Linked DNA regions of Homo sapiens: region 1 is linked to region 2. Evidence: promoter capture Hi-C in 16 types of primary human blood cells and fetal thymus (Javierre and others, 2016). All regions are on one chromosome and are shown on one strand. Each heading gives the region's core, a stretch centred on a gene start or on the middle of the fragment in contact. The rest is flanking DNA. Distances are from core to core; before and after follow the strand shown.

Region 1 (2,782 bases), core at 89-2,588, 110 kb before region 2:
ATCACATCCTTTGATCATTCTTACTGAGCCAACCTCTGCATATTTAATGTGAAACTGTATTTTGAAATTAGAATAAAAACTTGTATGTTAAGTACAGTGTACCAAATCAATGGAATCTATGTTTTTTCCTTAGATCGTTAGACACGGTGGCAGTCTGGGCCTTGGTTTGGCAGCCATGGGAACTGCACGTCAAGATGTTTATGATTTGCTAAAAACAAACCTTTATCAGGATGATGCAGTAACAGGTAAGCATTTCTTTCTAAAGCTAACAAGCTTAAGTATTAATTAATGTAAATGTAATTACATTAGTTTCTACCTATATTTTGTAGCCTCTTAAAATTCCGATGGATTTCTCTAGTTGAAGAGGAAGTGAATTTTGCTCCATTTGTCAAAGTTATCTTTTAAAACAAGTTTTGTGATATATAGGCTTTCTAAAATGGTATATCCTGTGTGTCCACTTTCATAACTGACTTTTGCAAACAGGAATTTATTAGGGTGATCTGCTTACTCCATACTGCTTGGCGATAATATAGAAAAAATGTTATCTAAATGTCTCCTTTGAAATCACTGTAGGATTTGATGGTACATTCTGTCAAAGTTTAAAAGGAAAACAACCCTAAATATGAATGTGCGAACCCTAAATGTATGAATGTGCTTCCACATAAAGTATCCTTTTTACCAGGTGGTTTAAAAAAATGCTATCAGAAGCTAATGATTTTTTTGATAGTTTATGCAAAAAGAGTGCTACTTTCAGTTGGATGTTTTACTGACTTTAAAAACATAACTCTCTGTTAACATTTTACTCGTTACTTGCCAGGGGAAGCAGCTGGCCTGGCCCTAGGTTTGGTTATGTTGGGCTCTAAAAATGCTCAGGCTATTGAGGACATGGTTGGTTATGCACAAGAAACTCAACATGAGAAGATTCTGCGTGGTCTTGCAGTTGGCATAGCTTTAGTAATGTATGGGAGGATGGAAGAGGCTGATGCTCTCATTGAATCTCTCTGTCGTGACAAGGTGAGATCACATACGTCCCTCACTGTCCATTTATCTCCAGCATGTAAAAAACACTTAACTTCACTGGAAATTAACTCTGTTCCCATCAGAACATGTAGGTACACTTATTCATAAAACTTCTGGCAATGTATATGAAGCCTAATAGAATTTAAGAAATAAAAGCACTGATTAGAAAAGGTACATGGGAGTAATTTGAGGATTTTAAATTTTGCTATAGCTTCAGATCGGTGATACTCATAAGCAGATTCAGCATAGTTCTTTAGGAATTCACGAGTTGATTTCTTTTAGAAATAATAATTTTTGGGCCAGGCGTGGTGGCTCACGCCTGTAATCCTAGCATTTTGGGAGGCCGAGGCAGGTGGATCACTTGAGGTCAGGAGTTCAAAACTAGCCTGGCCAACATGGTGAAACCCTGTCTCTGCTAAACGTAGAAAAAAAATTAGCCAGGCTTGGTGGCGGACACCTGTAATCCCAGCTACTTGGGAGCCTGAGGCATGAGAATTGCTTGAGCCTGGGAGACAGAGGTTATAGTGAGCAGGGATTGAACCACTGCACTCCAGCCTGGGTGACAGAGCAAGACTCCATCTCAAAAATATATATATATATATTTTTGGAATGATTTGATAGTCATTTAATAAGATACAAAGTTTACTTCATTATTCTTTTATCAGAAAACAGTACCAATCTCTATACTTGTTTATTTGGGTGAGGTTTTTTTTCCATTGCCTTTTGTTTAGTTTTTATAATGGTGTTGTATATGGTGGGTAGTTAGTGGCAGGTAATACTGTCCTCTATAATCAATAAGAACCACTGCTATAGTTTATTGATAAAATTATTAATTAATTTGTTCAGTTACCAGGCTCCATCTTTCTTCCACTCAGCACTCAGTACCCAGGAATTTAAATAAGGTAAAAATGTAGAATTAGAAGCCAACTTCCTTGCTTGATTGTTAAAAGGAAGTGGACTGCCATAGGAGTGGCTGTTGCTGTTGACTTGACTTTATACTTCCTAAAAAGTATGAAGCAGGGCAGGCATATTGCATAGCGTATTGGGAATTAAGAGCAGCTACCTCCTTCTGTATTTATGTGTTTTATTGCCCCATTTATTTCAAAAACTACCAACCACAAAAGAGTTATTGAGCTCATCATTTCCTATCTGAGACCAGCTTACTTGGTGGATGCCACTATGCCTATTAGACTGTAGAAGTTAACTGTTTGAAATAAGTTGATGATTAATGTTAAATTATTTTTCTTAGGACCCAATTCTTCGAAGGTCTGGAATGTATACTGTAGCCATGGCTTATTGTGGCTCTGGTAACAACAAAGCAATTCGACGCCTGCTACATGTTGCTGTAAGTACTCTGACCTTTCTTGGGAATGGGGTGGACGGAAAAGCTTGCAGATGGACAATAAGTGTCTAGGTGACTCCAGCATCCACAGCGCATGACCACCACCAGTGGTCTTAGGTTGTGATTCTCATTTACTGGACCCAACAGGCCATAACCTAGCACTAGATTCACTTAGCTTTTCAGAAGGATATGGGATGGGATAACAGTCCCATATAAATGGAAGTCCTTAAAGCCATTCAGGTGCAACTTCTAAAATCCTACTGCAAGGAGCACCCTCATTTGTAAGGGATAAGACCTTGTGAGTATGTGTGGCCACCCTAGGATAGAGAAATTCAGTGAAGAACAGGAACCATTTATTTCTTTTTACAGCCGGTAGAGTTAGCTTCCACATACCCCTAATGGGTGCAGTGGCTCATGCCT
Region 2 (2,775 bases), core at 138-2,637:
CAGCTTCCCGAGTGGCTGGGACTACAGGCACATGCCAATACGCCCAGCTAATTTTTGTATTTTTAGTAGAGACAGGTTTCACCATGTTGGCCAGGCTGGTCTGAAACTTGTGACCTTAGGTGATCCATCTGCCTTGGCCTCCCAAGTGCTGGGATTACAGGTGTGAGCCACCGTGCCGGGCCTGGTGTGAGAACTAAAGAAAACAATCTATATGATTCACTTAGCACAATGCTGGGCACACATATAGGCTGCACGTTTTGCAAACAAAAATACAGAACAATATAACATCCTACATGCACAATAAAATGAAGCAGTTTTTGGGATTTACTTACACTAAAACATTATCTAAAATTTACATTTAACTGTGTGTTCTATATTTTGTCTGGCATCTCCCGGCATACAGTTGTGTTGACGATAAATATTATGGCCATGGATTGAAGATTTATTTTCAATCCATATTACCTGGACAGAAGATAGGGCTCTCTTCTACTAAATACAGCTTTTTTTCTTTTGGAAGACAATCCACTGGCAGGGTTGGGGACTGGGGAAGTGGTGGCCACAGCCCATCTTAGGGCTTCTTCAAAGGCGAGCTGACCTACCTTCTCCGTGCCCCATTCCCTGTCTCTGGCCCTGGTAGCCTCCTCCTTCTTGGAAGCATGGAGGTGGAAACACTGAGGTGGCAACGAGAGACTCCCACGGAATCTCAACGCCTGGAGGGGAGGGATTTTCTATCCATGGCCATCTCTTCACCCTCCAGCACAAAGTTGGGTGACTAGCAAGTGCTCATTCAGTGCTGATGAACTTCAGTTCAAAAGCATCAGGTGCAAAGAGAGGGAAGACGTGTGCTCCTGATTTATTTTTAATAGCCCACATTTGACATGGAAAACAAAAAGTTTCTCTGAAATCCTTGGAAACCGCTGCAGTGGGGCGGGACCCTGGTCCCCGGAGCTTTAATGCACATCTTGGGCGTCACTTTTGGTTCTAAGGTGGCCCCAGGTCCCTCCTTTAAGATGGGAATAACCATGCCTGACTCTTTCCCCACGGACACCACACTGTCCTAGTTTGTGTTCTCTACGCGACCACGAGCTCCTTGAGACAAGGGGTTGAGCCTGCTCCGGCTCATCCCGAGAGCCGGCGCAGCGACTGGCGCAACGAAAGGGAAATGAACGAATGAATGAACGAACGAAAGTGGAGTGGTGGAGAGGACCACAGAAGACGCGGTCATCCAGCGCGTGAACCTTCACCACTGCTGGGCTGTGGACCCTCACTTCCGCCGCCAGGAAGTTTCGGGGTCGCCCACCTTCCCTCCCAGGCTGCTCCGCGTCGGCGGCGCCCCGCGCGATTGGCTGCGCCGCCCCCACGTGACGCCGGGGTGGCGGCGGCGGTTGCCCGGGTGACGGCTGCGGAGGTGGCGGCCGGGCTGGGATAGCGCGAGTGTCCGCGGCCGAGCAGCAGGTAAGCGCGTCCCCGGATGCAGCCGGGCCACCCTCCGCCCGCCGTCCTGGTGCTGGGAGGAGCAGCGGTGCGTTTGGAGGGCCGAGGCTCTGCGGACCTCTTGTTCCGAGGAAAAACCCGACGCGCCCGCTCCGCCGCCGCCGGATGCTACCACTTCTCGCCTGCGGTCCAGGGATCTTTCTTCGGCAAGGGCCGAGGCGGCCGCCTGGACATCCCAAGAAAGGACAGGCCCAGCTGCTTCCCGCAAGTAGTCCCTGATCTTTGCTGCAGTGGGCCATACTTGGAGGGGGTCCCTCAAGCCATCCAGCTGGTGGTGGCGGCGCGAGCGGGTTATCCGGGATTTAGATCCCCCTGATAATCTCCATCTGCTAGCCGCGTTCCTGAGGCACCCAGTTGAAGTCCAGACTTCACCTAATCTTAGGAAAAACAGGATGCGTGCTATGCAGATTCGGCTTCCATACAAATCCCATAATCCCACCCGTTTGTGGGCCCTAAATCTTTCTTATATAGGAATTCAAAAGCTGCCGCTGCAATCCCCAAATGTAACTGGAAAAGTTTTTCTTAGTTTCCGCATAAAGGAGAGCACTGGTTCTCAAACTTGAGAGTGTGTAAAAGTCACTCAGGGAGCTTGTTTAAAAGGCAGATTTCTGGGCATGGTGCCTGCCACGGTGTTCAGTAAGACCAGGGTGGAGGCAGGAATTTTCATTTGCACAAGCGTGCCAGCTGATTCTGATTTAGGTGGTCCAGACTTTGGGAAATACTGTGTAGTGGTTCTTTTCAGCCGCTTAGTCACTTACTGTGGCTGTTGGGAGTGTGTCAGACTTCCTGGGCCTCAAATTGCCTCATCTGGAATGGGAAAATATAAACTATATTCACCTGTCAGGTTTACTATGAAGGTTAAATGTAAAACATTTTGCACATTGCCTGGCATACCATATACCTTCAATAAATGATACCTATTATGATATAAAAGTTTAGAGAAAATTCTGTAATTTCTTTTTCTTTTCCTTTTTTTGAGACGGAGTCTTTCCCTGTCGCTCAGGCTGGAGTGGAGTGGCATGATCTCGGCTCACTGCAACCTCCACCTCCTGGGTTCAAGCGATTCTCTTGCCTCAGCCTCCCTGGTAGCTGGGATTACAGGTGCAGACGCCACCACGCCCGGCTAATTTTTGTATTTTTAGTAGAGATGGGGTTCCACCATGTTGATCAGGCTGGTCTCGAACTCCTGACCTCAGGTGATCCGCCTGCCTCAGCCTCCCAAAGTGTTGGGATTACAGGTGTGAGCCACTGTGCCTGGCCAATTCTGTAATTTCTAAGAAT

What was found. The method cuts DNA at HindIII sites, captures the fragments that hold promoters and counts their contacts. A CHiCAGO score of 5 or more calls a contact.
Region 1: a contact is called between a fragment that was not itself captured here and the fragment with the promoter of ARMC9 in region 2, in 1 of 17 cell types (M1 macrophages). The highest score is 5.0, in M1 macrophages.

What each region holds. Positions count from the first base shown.
Region 1 is chr2:231,082,750-231,085,531 of GRCh38, forward strand. PSMD1 (proteasome 26S subunit, non-ATPase 1) reads left to right here. Exons shown (of 25, transcript NM_002807.4): 13 at 134-245; 14 at 818-1,014; 15 at 2,270-2,365. Among named protein-coding and RNA genes, the nearest start is that of PSMD1, 27 kb to the left of the region's middle. The HindIII fragment of the contact is 2,135 bases long and covers 272-2,406 here.
Region 2 is chr2:231,197,244-231,200,018 of GRCh38, forward strand. It overlaps ARMC9 (armadillo repeat containing 9), which reads left to right and starts at 1,388. Exons shown (of 25, transcript NM_001352754.2): 1 at 1,388-1,455. RefSeq lists a silencer at 1,194-1,533. The HindIII fragment of the contact is 12,461 bases long and covers 1-2,775 here.